4 separate regions of the Homo sapiens genome follow, and all the other regions are linked to region 2. Evidence: promoter capture Hi-C in human tissues and cell types (Jung and others, 2019). All regions are on one chromosome and are shown on one strand. The core of a region is centred on a gene start or on the middle of the fragment in contact, and the rest is flanking DNA. Distances in the headings are between cores, read along the strand shown. Region 1 holds the start of LIG1 (DNA ligase 1). Region 2 holds the start of AP2S1 (adaptor related protein complex 2 subunit sigma 1). Region 3 overlaps FBXO46 (F-box protein 46). Region 4 holds the start of SNRPD2 (small nuclear ribonucleoprotein D2 polypeptide).

Region 1 (5,701 bases), core at 1,924-4,423, 1.3 Mb before region 2:
GACCAGCCTGGCCAACATGGTGACACCCCATCTCTACTACAAATACAAAAATTAGGTGGGCATAGTGGCACACACCTGTAGTCCCAGCTACTTGGGAGGCTGAGGTGGGGGAATCTCTTGAACCCAGGAGTTGGAGGTTGCAGGGAGCCAAGATCGCACTACTGCTCTCCAGCCTGGGCAACAGAGTAAGACCCTGTCTCAAAAAAATAAAGACTAAATAAAATACAATTGGGGTCCATTAAAATACCCCTGGCCACCTGGGTGTGATTCTGGCTCTCCTGGATTTCTCACCTGCCCCTCTTTGCACAGTTGTAGGGAACTACCTGTGAGCTTGTTCTTTTAACGTCAATCTTTCTGTCCAGTCAGAAAGTACCAGAAGGGCAGGGATTTTTGTCTCTTGCCCAACTCCATCGCTCCAACTAGAATATCCCCAGCCCACAGCATGGGACCTGGCCCCTTATTCACTGAATAGATGGATCCTTTTCTTTATCCTGCGGCTTCTCTGCAGTTCAGTCTCCCAGTCTCTGTCTCCCAGTCTTTGTCACGTGTACAAAACCTGGCTCTTCTGTTTCCCTGGCTGTCTCTGGTGTCTCTGCCTCCATGTCTCCATGTTTCTGGAATTTTCCGTGACTATTTTCTCCTCTTGGGGTGTGTGTGTTTTACGCTCTGCCTCTCGAAGTCTCTATTACATTCTGTAAGTCAGGCCGGGCACAGTGGCTCGCGGCTGTAATCCCAGCACTTTGGGAGGCAAGACGGGCAGATCACCTGAGGTCATGAGTTTGAGACCAGCCTGGCCAACATGGTGAAACCCCATCTCTACAAAAATCCAAAAATTGGCCAGGCGTGGTGGCGCGTGCCTGTAATCCCAGCTACTCAGGAGGTTGAGGCAGGAGAAACAACGCTTGAACTCGGGAGGTGGAGGTTGCAGTGAGCCGAGATTGTGCCATTGCACTCCAGCCTGAGTGACAGAGCAAGACTCTGTCTCAAAAAAACAACACAAAGCAAAACAAAACAAAAACAAAAACAAAAAACCACACAAAAATTAGCCGGGCATGATGGCAGGTGCCTGTAGTCCTAGCTACTCGGGAGGCTGAGGCGGGAGAATCACTTGAACCTAGGAGGTGGAGGCTGCAGATGGCACCACTGCACTCAAGCCTGGGCGACAGAGCGAGACTCCATCTCGAAAAAAAAAAAAAAGTCTGTAAGTCGGGCCCACACCATCTCTTGCTCCGTGAGTATCTTTGTCTCTCTAGCTCCTCTTCTTCTCTCAGTACATGTCCCTCCTTGACTCCCGCCTCTCTGCAAGGTGTATTTGGCTGCCTCAGTTGGCCTCTCCCCCTCTGCATCTCTGGGTGGGGTGTTCTCTGCCCGTCTCCCACCCACACCCACCCCCGGTGCTCCCCTTCCCCCCAGCAGGACAGCGGCTCAGGTTCACGCACCCCACGGCGGGCCGGCTGGGCGCACGCACGTCCTTGCACACAAGCCGCACGTAGCTGTACTTGAGCACGTCGATGAGCGTGTAGAGCGGGGGCGCACTGGCCCAGCGGCAGCGCGCCAGGTGCATGGAGCTCTTGACGAAGAAGAGCGCCAGCCGCTGCTGGCACCACGCGTCGAAGAAGCGGCTGAACTCGGCCCACGAGAAGAAGGCCCGCTCCCGCAGCTCCTGCTCCTCCTGCCCCGCAGCCGTGCCGGGTGGGGGCTCCGGCCGCTCCATCCTGGGGGCCTGCGTGGAGGAGGGGAGAACAGGTGGATATCAGACCCATTCCCACCCGGGGTATCTCATCTACTCCATTCTTGGCCTGCCCCGTCGGTTGCTGGTGCCTCTATCGAGGTGGGTAGCCCGGGGTCGGACGTGCCTGTTTTTCTCCAAATATATAAATATCAACCTCCATCCTATCTTTGGCCTCCTCCCACCGCCTTATCCCTGGTTCACTTGGAGCCTGTCATCTTGATTCCTAATTCCAACTCGTCTCCTCCTCCGCAGATGTGACCCTTAGGTACAGTTGGAATCTCTCCTCCCAAAATACGACCCTTAAGCTCAGATGTCCCTTAAGGACATCTCCTCAAATGTGTTCTCAAATTCCAGCTAAAACCTCCTCCCCTTCCAGCTGTGTCTCTCACCCAAGAGTAACTTCTAACTCTCGTATTCATCTGGAACTCCTCCTTCCATGTGCCAACAGTTGGCTGTAACCCCTCCAAAGACGCTCCATCTCCAGATGTGCTCCCACATCCAGGCCACGGACCCCTCACCCGGTCACATGCTTCATGCACCTGTGGCTCCGCACTCCCCAGATGTGCCTCTGGCGTGCAGCTGTTGCCCCTTCCCCCGATTATGACCCTATGGCTCGCCACATGCAGCTGTAGCTGGGGCTTCCCTGAGACACTCTCATCTCCAGATGTACTCCCCACATGCAGTTATCCACGCTTCGCCTACAGGTGTGTGCCCCACTTGTGGCTAGTTCTCCTCGGAAGTGTCACCAGTATTCACCTGTGGTCCCCTCCTCCTCAGATGCGGCCCCCAGTCCAGCTGTGGGCCCCTCCTCCCAGTTACATCCACCATCCCCCGCAATATGCATCTTCGTTCTAGACATGGCCCCTCGTCCTCGGATGGGCTCCTTCACCCCAGATGCTCCCCCCACGTCCAGCTGCGCGTCTCCCCTCGAGCAGCCCCATCCAGCCCGCTCCCGACCCTCCTACTCCCCCCCTCCCCGCCCGCTGCGGCACCTTCCAGCCCCGCCGTCCCACCTAGCTGTGCCTCTCCCCTCCCCAAGATGTGCACCCTTCCCGCCCCTCCCCACTCACCTACCCGCCCCGGAGCGGCGTCCACCTCCCACAATGCCCCGCGCCCAGGCCTGGCCCGGCCCTTGCTCCCGGGATGCCCCGCGCGGTCTCCCGCCTCTCTTCCCGCCGTGCCTCGCGGGGGCGCTTCCACCGATTCCTCCTCTTTCCCTGCCAGTCACTCCTCAGACCCTCAGCCACACCCGCTCATCCAGGGCGAGGGAAAGCGCGGGCATTTTCCCAGTGTGCTCTGCGGGAGGGCTCGCCCCACTTCACCCCTTTTCCCGCCCTCCTCCCATTCGGGAGACTACGACTCCCAGTGTCCTCCGCGCGACGGCGGCGGTGCGGACGGTGCCCAGGTCCCGCCCCTAGGCTCTGCCCCGCCCCCGCCCGCAGACGTCTGCGCGCGAATGCCGTGGCGCGAACTTGGGACTGCAGAGGCGCGCCTGGCGGATCTGAGTGTGTTGCCCGGGCAGCGGCGCGCGGGACCAACGCAAGGCAAGTGGGGCCGTCCGCAAGCAGATGGGAGGCGGAGGGCGGCGGGTGCGCCGAATGCTTGGGGCCTATGCTTCGCCATGTCGGGGTGTCTGCAGAGGAGTGGGCGTGGGGACGCTGAGGCTGCCGAGAGCGCGGTGGAGACGGAAGAGCGCGGGCTGCGGGCCGCCGGAGAGTGCAGAGAGGTGTCTCCCAGAGGGAGGGGGGCCAGGTAGAGGGTAGACGAGAGACAGAGACAGTTGGACAGGTCCTCTGAGAAGAGGCCTTGAGGTGCGAGTTCACCTGGAAAGGGGAGAGGCCAAATGGAACTGAGGGGCGGGGCCGGGGGGGGGAAAACTGTGTGGGCGGGGCCAGCTGGAAATCGGAAGGCCCCCCGAGGGGGCGGGGCTATCTGGGAGGGGGAGGGGCTGAAGGGAGCTAAGGGGCGGGGCCGGGGAAAAGATTGCGTGTGGGCGGGGCCACCTGGAAGGGGGAGGTGCCAAGGGTGGGGCTGGCTGGGAACCGGAAGTGCTGAGGGGGCGGGGGCCACCTGGAAGTGCTGAGGGGGCGGGGCTAGAAGAAGGTAAATCGCGGGCAGCAGCATCACCTGGAAGGAGTGGGCCCTACTGGAGGGAGATGGGTGGTGTCAGGGAGAGGTCAGTGGTAAGGTCCAGGTCTAGGTAAAGGGCTCGTAAAAGATGGAGAATCATCTGAATGGGGAGACGTCTGGCCTAATGTATGCTTGATAAAGGGATGGAGCTTACCTCTTGTTTTTACTTTTTATTTTGAAATAATTATAGATTCAAGGAAGTTGTGAAAAGAGTATATCCATCTTCCCCTAATGGTGACATCTTATGTAGTCCCAATATCGAAACCAGGAAATTGACATCAATACAGTTCTGTTAACTAGATTACAGACCTTGTTCAGTTTTCACCAGTTTGTGTGGTGTGAGTGTGATTGTGCATCTGTGTGCCCGTGCAGCTTGATTCCTTGTATAGATTTGTGTAACCCCCATCGTAATTGTGATATAGAACAGTTCCCTCTCCACATAAGAACTCCTCCCCAGGCCCCTGGCAACCGCTAATGTGTTCACCATCTCTAGTTTTGTCATTCGGAGATTGTTATGTAAATGGAATCATATATTATTAGGATGTTACCTTTTTTCTACTCTGCACAATGCCCTGGAGGTCCACCCAAGTTGTTGCTTGTATCAGTGCTTCGTTTCTTTTTATTACTGAGTACTGTTTCATCCTTACTTGATATTTTTCCTGTCATTATCTCTTCATTTTGGTAACCGCTTTATTGAGATATAATTCACAATTATACAGTTTGCCCATTTAAAGTGTACAATTTTGCCCATTTAAAATGTACAAGTCAGCGGTTTTCAGTGTATTTAAAGTGTATTTCAGTGTATTTAAAGTGCCCATTTAAAGTGTACAAGTCAGTGGTTTTCAGTGTATGCGCTGAGTTGTGCAGTTATTACCATAATCGATTTTAGGATATTTTTATCATCCCCCCAAAAAACTCCTATACCTTTTATCCATCATTCATTTAATTTTAACCCTGAACAATATTCTACCATATGGTATTCCAGTAATGAGGGAACCAGTTCCCTAAGGGTAGACATTCCACCAGTTTCCAGTCTTCTCTCATTACAGTTAGTGCTGCAGCAGGTAACTTTGTGCCTCACTTGGTCCACCTGTGAGGGTCTCTGTGGGCCAAATACACAGAAGTGGGGTTGCCGTTCCGATAGAGACGCCAGGTGGTCCTCCAGAGGCATCAACCAGTTTGTTCCCCCCAACTCAGCAGTACACAGAGTTGAGAAGCCAGCCTTGAGTACCGTGGTAAGGAGAAAGGAACGTGGGCTTTGGAGCCAGCCACACCGGGTTTTGAAGCCTTGCCTGAACCCCAGCTATGTTCCTCTGTCCTCATTACCTTCATCTATAAAGTGGGGATGATCTCACCTGTCTTGGAGGGCTGACTTGAGGATTGAGGGTATTTGAGAATGTGATCAGCCTGTCAGGCATAGAGTAGGCTTCCCAGTAAACGCTTATGTATTTCTCCTTCCCTTGCAACTCAGTCTGGTGGTTAAGAGGTGAGCTGTGGAGCAGGCCGACCTGGGGTGGAACGTACTATAGATGCAGGTTAAGTTCCTTTGAAAACCCCTCTGTGCCTTAGTTTCTGTAACAGAGTTGTTGTGGAGAGTCAGTATAATTGAGAATGTCAAGTACCTAGGCAGTTGAGCACTCAGGAGGGATCGTAATAGTTTTCTCCTTTGCCCTCAGGATTTTGGTGGCTAAGTCCCTAACCTGCTTTCTGTGTGAACTGTTTGGTTGAAGCATTGCTTACTTCCTGCTCCCCAACTGGCCCTGAGAAACTCTGTTTGGAAATTGCTGAGTTTCTTTTTTGTTTGTTTTTTTTTTTTTTTTTTTTTTTTTAAGACGGGGT
Region 2 (5,179 bases), core at 364-2,863:
GACAGGGTCCCTGCCCTCAACAACTCACTACCTAATGAGAGATCTAGACAAACATACACACATACTCATAGGGCAAATAAAATAATTTTTAAAATGTAATAAAGGCCATTTAAAAAATCACGCCTGTAATCTCAATACTTTGGGAGGTGGAGGAGGGAGGATCGCTTGAGCTCAGGAGTTCAAGAGCAGCCTAGGCAACATAGCAAGACCCTGTCTCTACAAAAAGTACAAAAAATTAGCCAGGTGTGACGGCATGTGTATGTAGTCTCAGCTACTCGGGAGGCTGAAGTGGGAGGATCACTTGAGCCCAGCAGGTTGAGGCTTCAGTGAGCTGAGATCATGCCACTGCGCTACAGCCTGGGTGACCAAGGGAGACCCTCTTTCAGAAAAAAGCAAAAACAAAGACACACCAAAAAAACACTAAACTAACTGCTGACCTGGAGGGTTTTTTTTTTTTTTGACAGAGTTTCGCTCTTGTCATTCCAGCTAGGGTGCAATGGTGTGATCTCGGCTCACTGCAACCTCTGCCTCCCAGGTTCAAGCAATTCTCCTGCCTCAGCTTCCCGAGTTGCTGGGATTACAGGCACCTGCCATCACACCCAGCTAATTTTTATATTTTTAGTAGAAATGGTTTCACCGTGTTGGCCATGCTGGTCTCGAAGTCCTGACCTTAGGTGATCCACCCACCTCAGCTTCTCAAAGTGCTGGGATTACAAGCATGGGCCATCATGCCCCCGCCAAACTAGAGATTTTTTTTTTTTTTTGGAGTCTCTCTCTATTGCCCAGGCTGGAGTGCAGTGGCGAGATCTGGGCTCACTGCAACCTCTGCCTCCGGGCTTCAAGTGATTCTCCTGCCTCAGCCTCCCGAGTAGCTGGGACTACAGGTGCGCACCACCATGCCTGGCTAATTTTTTGTATTTTTAGTAGAGATGGGGTTTCGCCATGCTGGCTAGGCTGGTCTCGAACTCCTAACCAAGTGATCTGCCTGCCTCGGACTCCCAAAGTGCTGGGATTACAGGAGTAAGCCACCGCGCCGGGCCGGTTCAAATTTATGCTTTTAAACTGTTGTCTCCCGAGAGACACACGCAACGTATTTTAAGCAAAACACTGGCTTGGTGTTGTGGTGGCTCATGCCTGTAATCCTGGTGATTTGGAAGGCTGAGGGTCGCTTGAAGCTGAGTTCGAGATCAACCTAGGCAATATATCTAGACCCCTGTCTCTATTTTTAAAAAAATTAAAGAAATCACTGGATGAGGAATGGAAAGACATTTTCTATCTCCCCAGGACAGTTTTTTAAAATTTAAAACTACTATTCCCAGCATGCCCTTCTCCCCTGGGTGGGGGGAGGGGACCTAAGAGAACTACATTTCCCTGAATGCAACGCCTTCACCGCTGGTTCTTCAGCATCTCGGGAATTGTAGTCCTCTGTAAAGATGTTTGTCCACAAATCCCAGCATGCACTTGGGATCTGACTCGTTTGGTAGGAAAAGGACTGGCTCTGACTCTTCACCCATCTTCACCCAGGCTGGCCCCTTTGGTGAAACTACAACTCCCAGGGGTCTGTGCGCGAGAAGGCAGGCGGGTTTTTCTACCGGAAGTCCGCTCTAGCTCTGGGCCCTACAACTGCACCCTGAGCCGGAGCTGCCCAGTCGCCGCGGGACCGGGGCCGCTGGGGTCTGGACGGGGGTCGCCATGGTAACGGGGGAGCGCTACGCCGGGGACTGGCGGAGGGGGGGCCCACGCGTAAATAGCCGAGGCTGGATCGGGCGCTGACAAGTCCCTTCTCTGCCGCGGATGGTCTGGGTCAGGCGCGGGCTCTGGGGATTGGGACCGATCCAGGGCCGGGAAGGAGGGCACAGGGCGGTGATTCTGCGCGCGGGGGTTACCAGGGGTCTCGCGGCGACGGGCATTGGGGGTGGTGTTCCAAGGGGAAAGGGCTGTGCAGGTGGGAAACGTTGTAGATGGTTGGAAGCTTTGAAACGAGAGGAAACTCGTGAGACACAGTCTTGTGGGTAGCGAGAAGGCATTGGAGGTGGGGAGAGGGCGTCCGAAAGAGGAAGGCGCTCTGGAAGTGTGGCGGGAGCGCTGGGACGAGAACGCGAGACCTTGGAAAAGGGGAGGGAGGTTTTCTTGATGGGAGGAGTCTCTAGAGACAAGGATCTGATTGCAGGTGGAGAGGGGATGTTGAGACAGGGGCAGGAGACTGCCTGTGAGAGAGGGATGATCTCAAGAAGAGACCTGGCACAGGAAACCAAAAGGAGGCAACTGTAGGGAATGAAACTTAAGGGTCTGGGAAAGCGCTGTAAAAGGAGAGAGGACCTGGAGGTAAGATGGACACTCGGAAAGAATGGGGAGCAACTGAATAGGTCTTTCCAAGAGGAGAGATCTTGTGGGGTGGGGAGTAGGCTTGAAAGTGTGAGACCTGGGGAGGAATCTTTGTTGGGGCAAAGACTCAACATTGGATTTAGGAGTGCCCCTATCCCCCAGGTTGGGGCTTTGGATCTAGGAAAGGGTTCTTTGGGCTGGAAGTTGGGAAAGAAAACGAATGAGAAAGAGTGTCAGAGCGGGGGCGGAGTCTCCTCCAGGAACAGGGTCCTTGGAGGCAAAATGTGACCTTTTGAAGAAGGGAGGAAGCTTGGGAGTGGGACAAGGGATGTCACCAGTAAAAAGCCCATTGAGGCCCCAAGGAGGGGAACTGAGACTGAGAAAGTGGAGGTCAAAAGGGAACAACTCCAGAGGAGGGGGATTGGAGACAGGGAAGGTTGGGGGGCATCTAGAGGGGACAGCAGAGGCGTGAGGATGCAGAGATTCAGGACGGAGGGGACTTGAGATTCCAAATGGGAAGAAAACAGGGAGAGGTATACAAGGGAATTTGGGAGTAAGAGGCAGAGCTTTTTGTCAACTCTGTGGGTTTGCTTCTAGTTCTCCTAACTGTGTGAATATGTCTCCGGCTCTGCTCCCAGGCTGTGGCTGCCTGGTGTAGGCCCCCCAACGTCCCTTCCTGCCTGGGACCCCTGCCCTGCTAGGAAGTGGTTTTCCCTGGCTCAGCAGGAGTTCTTGGAAGGAGAGTGTAACATCCTGTTCCGGTCCAGTTTGGTTGGTTGGGGGAGGGAGGATAGAGTGTGTGGAGAATGAGGCTTAGGAAAGACTCTCAGGCTGGGGCGGTGACTCATGCCTGTAATCCCAGCACTTTGGGAGGCTGAGGCAGGCGGATCACATAAGGTCAGGAGTTCGAGACCAGCCTGGCCAACGTGGTGAGACCCCGTCTCTACTAAAAATACAAAAATAAGCCAGGTGTGGTGGTGGATGCCTGTAATCCCAGCTACTTGGGAGGCTGAGGCAGGAGAATCGCTTGAACCCGGGAGGCAGAGGCTGCAGTGAGCCGAGATTGTGCCACTGGCCTAGGCGACAGAGTGAGACTCTGTCTCAAAAAAAAAAAAAAAAAAAAGGCTGGGCACAGTGACTCGCGCCTGTAACCCCAGCACTTTGGGAGGCTGAGGCAGGCAGATCACAAGGTCAGGAGTTCGAGACCAGCCTGACCAACATGGTGAAACCCTGTCTCTACTAAAAATACAAAAATTAGCCGGGCATGGTGGCATGCGCCTGTAATCCCAGGTACTTAGGAGGCTGAGGCAGGAGAATCGCTTGAACCTGGAGGTAGAGGTTGCAGTGAACCGAGACAGTGCCACTGCACTCCAGCCTAGGCAACAGAGTGAGACTGTCTGAAAACAAAAAAGAAAAGAAAAAGACAGGACTAGAGGGCTCTCTTTCCTAAGAGAGAAGGCTCCCACAAGTTGGGGTCAGGTGGTTCAGAGCAAAGCCTTTGGACTCCCACCTCTGCTTTCTGGCTGTGAGACTTCCTTTCCCTAAATCTCAGTTTCCTCATCTATAAAATGGGCATGAGCATGCCTGTCTCAGACAGAAATGGGCCCAGAACTTCTAATGGAGTAAGCTTTGGCCATGGTTTTCTGAACATCACATAATGGAAAATATAATGCTGCTAAGAGCTGGTTCTTATGTAACACTTAGTACGTGCCAGTCACTGTACTATACCTCTATGTTTTTGTTTTTGTTTTTTTGAGACAGCGTCTCGCTCTGTCACCCAGGCTGGAGAGCAATGGTGCAATGTCAGCTCACTGCAACCTCTGCCTCCTGGGTTCAAGTGATTCTCATGCCTCAGCCTCCCGAGTAGCTGGGATTATAGCCGCCTCCCCCCTGCCCCCCATCACACCTGGCTAATTTTTGTATTTTTAGTACAGATGGGGTTTCACCATGTTGGCCAAACTGGTCTCGAACTCCTGACCTCAAGTGATCTGCCCGCCTTGGCCTCCCAAAGTGCTGGGATTACAGGTGTGAGCCACCGTGACCGGCCAGGAATATCCTTTACTCCTCACAGTAAACTCAGGCACCAAAGTGGCACCAAAGTTAAGTCATGAAAGTGGCAGACGCTTTGGAAAACGGTTTAGCAATTCCTGAGAAAGTTAAACATAGCGTTACCCTATGAGCCAGCAATCTCACTCTTAGGTATATACCCAAGAGAAATGATCCATCCACACGAAAACTCATACACGAATGTTCATAGCAGTATTATTCATAATAGCCCTAAAGCAGAAACAACCCAAATGCCCGAAGTACGGCCTTATCCATCCAACAGAGGATCACTCAGCCACGGAAAGGAATTGCAGCTCTGCCGCTTGCCACCCCACAGATGAGCCTGGAAAACGTCACGCTGAGTGAAGGAAGCCAGACACGAAAGCCACAGAGTGCATGATTCCACTCATATACAATGTCCAGAACAGACACATCCACAGAGACAGAAAGGAGACTCGTGGCTGCCAGGCCCTGGGGGAACGGAGAGTGACTGCTAATGGGTGGGGAGTTTTTTGGGGGGAGATGATGAAAATGTTCTGGTATTAGATAATAAATTAGATAGTGGTGATATTAGGTGGGGTGCAGTGGCTCACGCCTGATGCAGCACTTTGGGGGGATGAGGTGGGTGGATCGCTTGAGGCCAGGAGTTCGAGACCAGCCTGGACAACATGGTGAAACACTGTCTCTACTAAAAATACAAAAAGTTAGCTGGGCGTGGTGGTGTGCACCTGCGGTCCCAGCTACCTGGGAGGCCTGCACCCAGGAGGTGGAGGTTGCAGTGAGGCGGGATCGCGCCACTGCACTCTAG
Region 3 (5,323 bases), core at 1,307-3,806, 1.1 Mb after region 2:
AGTGGCCTGATCTGAGCTCACTGCAGCCTCTACCTCCTGGGCTCAAGCAATCCTCCCACCTCAGCCTCCTGAGTACTTGGGACTACAGGCACGTGCCACCACACCCTGCTAATTTGTGTATTTTTTGTAGTGATGGGGTTTCACCATGTTGCCCAGGCTGGTCGCAGACTCCTGAGCTCAAGGGATTGTGTCCCCCCTCTGCCTCCCAAAGTGCTGGGATTACAGGTGTGAGCCACCGTGCCTGGCCAAGTTTTTTTTTTTTTTTTTTTAAGGGGTAATGTTACTCCTCTACTTGTCTCTTGGTTCGTGTTTTCCCAGCCAGTTTTTTGCCGTCTTTTGATTTTCCATATTTTTGGTTCACAATGTTTTACAATGAATAGATTTTCATGGAGTAGTTGCTGAAGGCTGACCTAGTGTAGGGCCTTATGCTGGGCTCAGTGTGGGGGAGTTAGAAGATCCTGTCTCAGGCCTGGAGAGAGACCCACCCCAGACGATGACCCAGAGTAGGCAGGGAAGAGGGAACCCAGAGGTCCCCTCTGGGCAGGTGGGTGATTTCCAGGAAGGGAGTTGGAGAAGGCCTCTCTAATAAAACTGCATTTGAACACAGACCTGAATGAAGTAAGGAATTGAGCCTTGCAGAGGGGGAATGTATTGCAGTTGGTGGGAACAGCAAATGCAGAGACCAGGGAAGGCAAGAGCCCGGTAACTTTGAGGAATAGACAGCAATGAGCCCACCGCATGGACGCCCTGGGTGAAGCCTGACCTGGCCTAGGGGGATTGGGGGTGTCAGCTTCTTAGAGGAGGGGTGGTCGAGCTGAAACCCCAGGGAATATATAGTGAAACAGTAGGGCACAGTGACTAGGAAATCAGATTCCCTGGCTTCATATCCCTGCTCCAGCTCACACTCCAGCTCTGTGTGACCTTGTGGTCAGGAGACCTGCCCTGCGTCAGTTTCTTCATCCATACCGTGGAGACGATCACTCCTACCGGGGATCAGATGGGTCCTGAGTATTCTATGTATGCCAGATCAGGTGCCCACCAGGGTGCACTGGGGTATTGCCTGCGGGGCGGAGGAGTGGGGAGGGATGCGACTGGACAGGTGGGGTACCTGGGTGTTTTCCAGAGGGCACTGGGGAGCCATGGCAGGTTCTCACCAGGATAGGGACGGGTTCAGGTTTATAGGACTGTGCTTTAACAGGACTTTTCTGGCTGCTCTTTTGTACTAAGTGAGGCAGGTTTGGGGCGCCTGTTTGGAAAGGCTGAACTGGCAGCTCCGAATGGCTACACGGCTTGAGCCTTGAACGCCAGGCCTAGAGGCTTGTTTTCAGTTGCCGTGGGAACCTTCGTAGGGTTCTGTCCATTTGTTTTTCAGGGTGGGGTTATCCCGATGCCCAATTCCCCCCGCGGAAATCCTCAGCCCGCCCCCCGCCCCCACAGTTCCCAACCAAAGCTGGATACTCTGATCTCTCCGCCTGCTTCCTTCCGCCTTGGTGTTCTTAATCCCCGGGCTGCCTGGCCCTTTAAGTCTCAAGCGTCAATCAGGGCTTCTGTTCGAGGGGACGTGGTGTAATAAGCCTCCCCTGGAGTGTCGTGGCCTTTGCCCTGACCTTGTTCCGTTTAGCTGGACGTTGGGAGTTGTTCCACGCTCCCTTGCATCCGGCTGTGTCTACCCCACCACCCACTCCCATCACCTCTCGCCTACTCCTCCCTATTTCGAAGTTGGGCCCCTTCGCCAAGGCCTGCCTTATATGGGCACGGCCCCGAATGGCGGCCGCTCATTGGCTGAGAGCGTCACGCGCGCGTCTGTCAACAAAAGGGCGGAGGGAAGCTAGTTGCTAGTCTGCCCGCGCGGTGGCCGGAGGGAAGGAGCGAGGGGGCGGGCCCTTTTACCTTTCGCGCGCATGCGTGTGGGCTGCAGCCTTCTCCCGCCGCCTGGGGGGGCTGCGGGTGAGGGCTCTTTGGGGGCGTGTGTAGGTTTCGAGGGTCACCTGAGGGGTTTGGAAGATTTCTTTGGGGGGGCGGTTACAAGATTTGGGGGTTCCTTTTCCATTTGCAAAATGTTCTGGGGCTTGGGGAAGTTTTAACGTGGGTTTAGGGGATACTTTTGGGGTTCTCTCGCGCTTAAGGGGCACCTTGGAGTTTGGGTTCGTTTGTAATGCGGAAGGTTCGGTTGTGTTTTCGGGATCGGGTTCCCTTTGTGTTTTGGAGTGTTTGTTGGGCATAGAATTTGGGGAGCTCCCGGAGAGACAGAAGCAAAGAGCCCGAGAGTACCAGTCCTGGAGGTGGAATGTCTGGGCTCGCGTCTTGACTTCCTACCTGTCTTAACCCGGACAGGAGATTTCACCTGTGTCTCATCGGGAACTAGGCATTAATAACACTACCTGCTTCCTAGGGACCGAGGAGGATTAGGAATTGTTAGCGCAGTACCTACCTAGTAAGCTCGCAGCGAGCGTGCAGTAAGCACATGTCTGCTATTGTAACATTTGTGAGGTTTCTTTGTTTTTTTTTTTTGGCTTTGTGAAACATTTTTATGGTTTAAGATTCATCTTAAAGTGTTAGGGAGCTTTTGTGTTTTCAAAGAGTTCGTCTGCTGTTGGAGGCTTCTAGTGGAATTGGGAGATAATGGAGGAGGGTTGGGGGGAGTATAGGATTCCGGGAGAGTGATTGTTTATGACATAGTTTGGGGAATTGCTGTGTTGGGATCTGTGAGAGATTGACTGAGATTCGGCCCTTCAGTGCTGGAGAGGATATTTTTAGGTTCGGTGGTTTAAAGTAGTATTTGAAAGCTTTTCGATATTTGGGGGAGGACATTGAGATGCTGGGGGTAAGGTTGGAACTGATTAGGGGACTTGAGGGGGTGGCCAGGTTGTAGCAGGATGGCATCTGTAGAGACTGGCTTTTGCTGTGTTAGCCTGCCTCCCTGGGCAGTTGGTTATACAGGTCAAGTATCCCTTACCCGAAAATCTTGGGACTAAAAAGTGTTTCGGATTTTGGATTTCTTCGGATTTTGAGTATTTGCATTATACTTATCAGTTGAGTATGCCAAGTCTGAAAAATCTGAAATGCTCTAATGAGCATATCCTATCAGTGTCATCTTGGCACTCAAAAAGTTCTGAATTTGGGAGCATTTTGGATTTTCAGATTTGAGATACTCAACATGTATGTGAATTGGTGGTTGGTAAACAGCCATCTATAGGTTTTGGAGGCTGTGGAGTGATATTTTTAACACTGAGCTGAGATTACAGCAGGGACTGTAAGTATTTGAGGGGTAGGTGGGATTGGGGATTATGGAGTGGAGATAAAGATTCTTGACATGGGGATTCTCTGTGTTTACTGGTACCTGTGAGTGCTTGGAGGCTGTCTGGATTTTGTTTTGTTTTCTTTCTTTTTTTTTTTTTTTTTTTTGAGATGGAGTTTAGCTCTTGTCGCCCAGGCTGGAGTGCAGTGGCAAGATCTCAGTTCACTGCAACCTCCGCCTCCCGGTTCAAGCTATTCTCCTGCCTCAGCCTCCTGAGTAGATGGGACTACAGGCGCGCACCACCACGCCTGGCTAATTTTTGTATTTTTAGTAGAGACGGGGTTTTGCCATGTTAGCCAGGCTGATCTCGAATTCCTGACATCAGATGATCCGCCTGCCTCGGCCTCCCAAAGTGCTGGGATTACAGGTGTGAGCCACTGTGCCAGGCCTGGAATTGTTTGAATTTAGAGGGATGGTCTGTACTGCAGGAGTTGGCAAACTTTTTCCATAAAGAGCCAGATAATGGGTATTTTAAGCTTTGCAGGCCATGTGGTCTTTGTTCTGCTATTCAGCTCTGCTGTTGAAGATGAAAGCATCCATAAACAAATGAGCATGTTTCAATAAAACTTTATTTACAAAGACAGCGAGCTGGATTAGGCTTCTGGGCCATAGTTTGCTGACCTCTCTGGCCTGTAGGCATGTGGAAGTTTCAAGGTTTAAAGGGTCATTTTGGTTTTGAGCTGTCTGGAGGGAGATGAGCCAGAGAAAGATTGAGGCATATGTTACTTAGTAGGTTCAAACTGCAGTGAAAGTGATCATGTCGGACTCATGCGCAAGATTGCCTCCAGATTAGGTCATTCACATCAAGTCATTCCAAAATAAAATAGTCATTAACAGAGCCCTAAATTGAAGAGTCCAGAAATCAAGTTGAGAGCCTCTTTTTGCTCCGGACCCACTGTAATCTTAGCTATGTCACCCTTCCCCACTCTGAGCCTCTGTTTATCTGTGTGCAGCTTGAGGAGAAAGCTAGGCTAGAACAGGCACCCTCGTGTTTTCTTTCTTTTTTTTTCCCAAGATGGGTTCTCTCTCAGTCACCCAGGCTGGAGTGCAGTGGTATGATCACAGCATCACAGCTCACTGCAGCCTCCACCTCCTGGGCTCAAGCGATACTCCCACCTCAGCCTCCCAACTAGCTGGGACTACAGGTGCGCCACACCCCACCCGGCTAATTTTTGTATCTTTTTTCGTAGAGATGGATTTTGCCCAGGCTGGTCTCAAACTCCTGGGCTCAAGCAATCTGCCCACCTCGGCCTCCCAAAGTGCTAAGATTACAGGCACAAGCCACCACACCCGGCTTTGTTCTCTGTTTTTTAGAGGGTCTCACTCTGTCACCCGGGTTGGAGTGCAGTGGTGCCATCATTGCTCCCTGCAGCCTGGAACTCCTCCTAGGCTCTAGAACAGGCCCTCTTACTCCGCGGGTCCACGGCTGTGCTTTAGGGAATCCCCTGTACTGTCTTTGCAAGGGTGTGCATTTTTCTGACTGAGGACACACAGCTTTAATAAATTCTCATTAAGCCCCACTACCTGAAAAAAAAAAAGAAAAGCCGATTTCTTAAGTGCTTGTCTGAATCTGACCTCAGATTTTCATCCCCATCCCAGCGCATTTCGTTCCTCTCTCTGTGGGTTTAAGCAGCCATAGCTGTGGGTGGGGCTGGGAATTTCTGTCTTTTCAGGAACGAGCTACTGAGTGAGCAAATAGAAAAAGGACCTTGTCTGTCAGTGGTCCTTTCACTTAAGTGTAAAAGTTATGGCAGTTTAAAGGCCTCTGGATTGTGGGCAAAGGCAGTTGGACAGTGGGGTAGGACCTATGGGGTTGGTGCGTGCTGCCAGTTAGGGTCCCGCTCTGCAAGTTAAAAGGGCATCTCTCATCCCCTCTGCAACCTCTGTCTGCTCACCTGAGCATGGCAGTGGGAATAGAGTTCTTTTTTTTTTTTTTTTTTTTTTTGAGACGGAGTTTCGCTCTTGTCGCCCAGGCTGGAGTGTAATGGTGCCATCTGGTCTCGCTGCAACCTCCACCTCCCAGGT
Region 4 (5,358 bases), core at 1,405-3,904, 1.2 Mb after region 2:
CCCAGCTACTCAGGAGGCTGAAGCATGAGATTTGCTTGAACCTGGGAGGTGGAGGTTGCAGTGAGCCGAGATCGCGCCACTGCACTCCAACCCAGGCGACAGTGTGAGACTCCATCTCAAAATAAAATAAAATAAAATAAAATAAAAAAGAAACCAGTCCAAGGTCACAATCTAAGTGGATGAGGTAGCATTGGGACTCAGGCAGTATTTAAGTGACTTTTTTTTTTTGAGATGGAGTCTCGCTCTGTCACCCATGCTGGGGTGCAGTGGCGCAATCTCAGCTCACTGCAGTCTCCGCCTCCTGGGTTCAAGTGATTCTCGTGCCTCAGCCTCCCAAGTAGCTGGGACTACGGGTACCCACCACCACGCCTGGCTAATTTTGTATTTTTAGTAGAGATGAGGTTTCACCATGTTGGCCAGGCTGGTCTCAAACTCCTGATCTCGAGGGATCTGCCTGTCTCGGCCTCCCAAAGTGCTGGGATTAGAGGTGTGAACCACTGCGCCTGGCCTTTAAATGACTCTTCATGCTTTCTGGAAGACAACAGATACATTACAGCACCAGCTCGGAGCCAACCTGTTTGGGTTCAACTCTAGGTCTATGATTTTCTAAACATTGGGTCTCACTAGGTTGACTAGGCTAGTCTCAAACTTCTCAGGTGATTCTTCCACCTTGGCTTCCCAAAGTGCTGGGATTACAGGCATGAGCCACTGCACCCGGCTAAGGTCTACTACTTATTATCTGTAGGATTTGTGCAATGTGTATAACCTCTCTGAGCCTCAGTTTCCCCATCTGCATAATGAAGATCATATTGGTACCCACCTTATAGGGCTGTCTGTTGCCTATGCCTAGCACACAGTAAGCTTTTGGTGGGGGCATTAAGGGGGGCAGTACAGCCTGGTGGTTTGTTACCAGCATGGAGTCTAGAGTCCGATTAACTCCAGTCAGAGCCCCAGTTCCTCCTCTTAGCTTCTTTGGGATCTTGAACAGGATTCTTATTTCCCATTCCCTGGAGGGCTAGGGGGTCAGGGACTGGAGGTGGGTCCCTTTACCTTTCTGACTTGGAGATTTCCCGGGCTGCCCGGGGTTCGCACAACCAGCAGGGGGCGCAGATAAGTGCTCCAGAGACGCTGTGGATCCAGTTGTCCCACCACCCTCCGCAGCCGGGCTTCGGGGAGGCTTCCGATCAATGGGACCTTGGGAAGGAGGTGGGATAGGGAAGGGAAGAATGAGAGCAACCCCCCCATTTCAACCCTACCCCGGGCGCCGTCACCCGCGAGGAGCCCCGGGTTCTCTTCCTAATCTGCCGCCTCCAGCATCGGAGACTTCTAGGATAAATCCAAGGCTCAGGAAAAGTCCTTCCAAGACCATCCGGTCCAGCCTACCTCAAACTTGATGGGGAAATCGAGGCCCAGTGAGAGAGAGGGGAGATGGAGGAAGGGACTCTTCCAAATAGTTGACTAAAGGCGTAGAACCCTGAACCCCCCCGTCTTACTATTTCAGACCTTTCCTCTTAAAAGGAAGCTACTGTTGCAGAACCAGCCCGAAGCCTTATTCCTTTGGTAAGGGTCATGCGCTCAGATGACGAAGACGGTGGCATCTGCGGTTAGGGCCGTACGCTAAAGCCACGTCAACCCTGGGTAACAGCGGGGAGGGAATGAGGGTCCCCGCGGTGCCCGGGTCCCCGCCCAGCCTCACCCGCAGCTCCCGGCCCAGCGGCAGCTCCTCAGTCCTGCGGTGCCAGCCGCTCCAAATGGTGTAGAACGCCGAGCCCACGGCCAGCGCCAGCAACAGAGGCAAGAGCCGAACCCGCGGTAGCAGGCGGCGCTTCGGCGGCAAGAGTGGCTCCATGAGGCCACGTTCCCCCAGCCGCAGGCGGGGTCGCCCGCGGCCCCCGGAACGCATGGCCGCTTTGCCCTGAAACCTGTACCAGACCACGGATTGAGTTTAGGCCCAGCCAAGTTCCTCCCCATGGAATCGGTGGGCCAATAAGCAACAGCTGCGGCTGCACCAGCCCACCCCACAGCGAGCAGCGAAACCAATAAGAACTACGGTCCTGAGGACACGCCTCCCAGCCTCCCTTAGGTATTGGGGTTGGTTCCCCTGAGAATGGCACGACCCAAATGGGAGCGCAAGAGAAGTAGGCTCCGCCTTAGCGGAGGAGGGAAAGCCAATGAACAGCGTTTGATCATGGAAAATATTCGATCTCCCGGGCGCAGGTCCATGCCCCTTCCGGATGTAGGCAGGGGATTGGTGGCGCAGGGTCGGAAAGATCAGTAGATACGTCAGTAACGCGTCCCAGAGGGAAGAGGGGCGGTGCCTGTCTCCGAAGCGAGGAGCGGATTGGCTTCACGGAGGCCGCGCCCCCGAAGTCACGGCCGGCGGGCATTTGGAAATAGCTTGTCATTTCCCTCCTTCAACCTGTACCATTCTTCAAGAAACGGTTTGAATCAGACTGCCTTTCCTTTTGTCTTCATTGTCATAAACATCTGCCCCCGTGTGGTTCTGACTGGCCGCGAACCCCTACCCGAAGCTTTTATTCCATCATTGTGCACCGTTGGTGGGGAATGCTGTGGCAACAGGCCACGCCTCCACTTACTGGTTGGCTTTGCGCAGGCGCCAACGGAAGTGGGTCGCAGGAAGAGGAAGTCCCGCCTCTCTCTCCTCAGGCAGCAGCAACGCGGAGGAAACGGGAGTGAACGGAGAGCGTAGTGACCATCATGTGAGGCCGGGCTAGGCTTAGGCGGCGGGAATGAGGTTGAGGGTGGATATTTGACCGATTGAGTGTGGGAAGGGTTGAGCAGAGCGGGGGGGGCAGGGGCAGATGTTTTAGGGATGCAGCGTCCTGCTTTTCTCCTGATGAGTTTGAGAACGGGCGTGGGGCCTTTGACGCATCGTGACTTCGGGAGAGGGGACAGCTTTATCAGATAACGCCCTGGGCTGGGCGCGGGGGCTCATTCCTGTGATCCCAGCACTTTAGTAGGCCAAGGCGGAGCATCGCTGGAACACAGGAGTTCGAGACTAGCCTAGGCAACATAGCGAGACCCCCGTCTCTACAAAAAAAAAAAAAAATTTAATTATGAAAAACATGTTTTAAACGATAACGGGAGTGGTCCTAGATAATTAGTCCTATTGAAATGAATGTTAAGGGGCAGCGATTTTACGAATACTGGGGGAGGCCGAGCGCGGTGGCTCAGGTTTGTAAATCCCAGCACTTTGGGAGGCCGAGGCGGGCGGATCACCTGAGGTCAGGAGTTTGAGACCAGCCTGGCCATTGTGGTGAAACCCCGTCTCTAACAAAAATACAAAAATTAGCCGGCCGTAGTGGCGGGCGCCTGTAATTGCAGCTATTCGGGAGGCTGAGGCCGGAGGATCGCTTGAACCCGGGAGGCGGAGGTTGCAGTGAGCCGAGATTGCGCCACTGCACTTCCAGCCTGAGCGACAGAGTAAGACTCCATCTCAAAACGAAACAAAAGAAATAAAACGAATAATGGGGGAGGGAAGTTAGGACTTTTAGAAATAATTATTTGAAATAAGGGACTTATCTTGATCATTTGAGCTGGAGACGGGTGCGTTTTCGACTTGATTCACAACTTACACGGATAACGAACGAGTCATTGACATGATTTTGCGCATTTATTAGTGCAGCAGATATTACATTGAATGCTTATGTATCAGACACTGCTTAAGCTACATAGGATACATCAGTGAATGAAACCTCTAGTCCCCAAGGGAAAAGAAAAATCTTTTTCTCTTTTTCTTTTTTTTTTTTTTTTTGAGACGGAGCCTTGCTCTGTTGCTCAGGCTGTAGTGCAATGGTGCGATCTCAGCTCACTGCAACCTCCGCCGCCTGAGTTGAAGCGATTCTCCTGCCTCAGCCTCCCGAGTAGCTAGGATTACAGGCACCCACCACCATGCCCAGCTAACTTTCGTATTTTTAGTAGAGACCAGGTTTCACCATGTTGGCCAAGCTGGTCTCAAACTCCTGACCTCAAATGATCCACCCGCCTCGACCTTCCAAAGTGCTGGGATTACAGGTGTGAGCCACCGTGTCTGGTCGGGGTTTTACTTTCTACACTGAGATGGGGGGAGGATGGGAGGGTTTTCTTTTGTTTTGTTTGTTTGAGATGGAGTCTCGCTCTGTCACCCAGATTGGAGTGTAGTAGCACGAGCTCTGTCTCCTGGGTTCAAGCGATCTTCCTGCCTCAGCCTTCAAAGTAGCTAGGATTACAAGCATGCGCCACCATGCCCAGCTAATTTTTTTTTTTTTTTTTTTTTTGAGACGGAGTCTCGCTGTCGCCCAGGCTGGCGTGCAGTGGCGCAATCTCGGCTCACTGCAGCCTCCGCCCCCTGGGGTTCACGCCATTCTCCTGCCTCAGCCTCCCGAGTAGCTGGGACTACAGGCGCCCGCCACCTCGCCCGGCTAATTTTTTGTATTTTCAGTAGAGACGGGGTTTCACCGTGTTAGCCAGGATGGTCTCGATCTCCTGACCTCGTGATCCGCCCGCCTCGGCCTCCCAAAGTGCTGGGATTACAGGCGTGAGCCACCGCGCCCGGCCTAATTTTTTTTTTGAGATGGAGTCTCACTCTGTAGCCCAAGCTGGAGTGCAGTGGCGCAATCTTGGCTCACTGCAACCTTCGCTGCTGGGGCTCAAGCGTTTCTGCTGCCTCAGCCTCCCAAGTAGCTGGGACTAGAGGGATGCGCCACCACACCTGGTTAATTTGTTTGCATTTTTAGAAGAGACAGGGTTTCACCATCTTGCCCTGGGTGGTCTCGAACTCCTGAGCTCAGGCGATCCACCTCGCGTCGGCCTCCCAAAGTGCTGGGATTACAGGCGTGAGCCATCGCATCTGGCCTAATTTTTGTATTTTCTAATTTGTATTTATTTATTTTTTGAGACAAGAGTCTCGCTCTGTCACCCAGGCTGGAGTGCAGTGGCATGATCTCACTTCACTGCAACCTCCGACTCTCTGAGTTCAAGCAATTCTTCTACTTTAACCTCCCGAGTAGCTGAGATTACAGGCGTGCACCACCACGCCTGGCTAATTTTCTGTTGGTTGTTTTTTTTATTGTTGTTTTGTTTTGTTTTGTTTTGTATTTTTAGTAGAAATGGGGTTTCACCATGTTGGCCAGGCTGGTCTCGAACTCCTCACATCAAGTGATCAATCCACCTTGACCTCCTAAAGTGCTAGGATTACAGGCATGAGCCACTGTACCCATACCCTGGGAGGGTTTTGAAGAGTGACATGTTATGATTTAGGTTTTAGCACAACCCCCTCAGACCACTCTGTGGAGAACAGACTGTCAGGGAACGTGGGTGGAGGCAGAGAGACCAGAAAGATTCCAGGACAGAGATGAC

The links. Contacts are between HindIII fragments. The study calls those that stand out against the background at their distance.
Region 1: the fragment with the promoter of LIG1 here is called in contact with the fragment with the promoter of AP2S1 in region 2 in 1 of the 25 tissues and cell types used here (dorsolateral prefrontal cortex).
Region 3: a contact is called between a fragment that was not itself captured here and the fragment with the promoter of AP2S1 in region 2, in 1 of the 25 tissues and cell types used here (dorsolateral prefrontal cortex).
Region 4: the fragment with the promoter of SNRPD2 here is called in contact with the fragment with the promoter of AP2S1 in region 2 in 1 of the 25 tissues and cell types used here (dorsolateral prefrontal cortex).

The regions. Positions count from the first base shown.
Region 1 is chr19:48,167,816-48,173,516 of GRCh38, reverse strand. It overlaps LIG1 (DNA ligase 1), which reads left to right and starts at 3,173. Exons shown (of 28, transcript NM_000234.3): 1 at 3,173-3,276. ZSWIM9 (zinc finger SWIM-type containing 9) reads right to left here and starts at 2,837. Exons shown (of 4, transcript NM_199341.4): 1 at 2,803-2,837; 2 at 1,440-1,723. The coding sequence starts at 1,714. RefSeq lists silencers at 2,645-2,784, 3,585-3,634, 3,665-3,734 and an enhancer at 3,032-3,691. The HindIII fragment of the contact is 31,276 bases long and covers 1-5,701 here.
Region 2 is chr19:46,847,280-46,852,458 of GRCh38, reverse strand. It overlaps AP2S1 (adaptor related protein complex 2 subunit sigma 1), which reads left to right and starts at 1,613. Exons shown (of 5, transcript NM_004069.6): 1 at 1,613-1,695. The coding sequence starts at 1,693. RefSeq lists an enhancer at 1,289-1,598. The HindIII fragment of the contact is 18,087 bases long and covers 1-2,303 here.
Region 3 is chr19:45,713,889-45,719,211 of GRCh38, reverse strand. All of the region lies in intron 1 of FBXO46 (F-box protein 46), which reads left to right. Among named protein-coding and RNA genes, the nearest start is that of FBXO46, 14 kb to the left of the region's middle. RefSeq lists enhancers at 1,423-1,472, 915-1,585, 1,586-2,256. The HindIII fragment of the contact is 7,183 bases long and covers 1-5,323 here.
Region 4 is chr19:45,689,249-45,694,606 of GRCh38, reverse strand. It overlaps SNRPD2 (small nuclear ribonucleoprotein D2 polypeptide), which reads left to right and starts at 2,654. Exons shown (of 3, transcript NM_001384647.1): 1 at 2,654-2,720. The coding sequence starts at 2,719. QPCTL (glutaminyl-peptide cyclotransferase like) reads right to left here and starts at 1,941. Exons shown (of 7, transcript NM_017659.4): 1 at 1,697-1,941; 2 at 1,051-1,194. The coding sequence starts at 1,903. RefSeq lists enhancers at 1,234-1,784, 2,310-2,439, 2,450-2,579, 2,398-3,118. The HindIII fragment of the contact is 8,059 bases long and covers 1-5,358 here.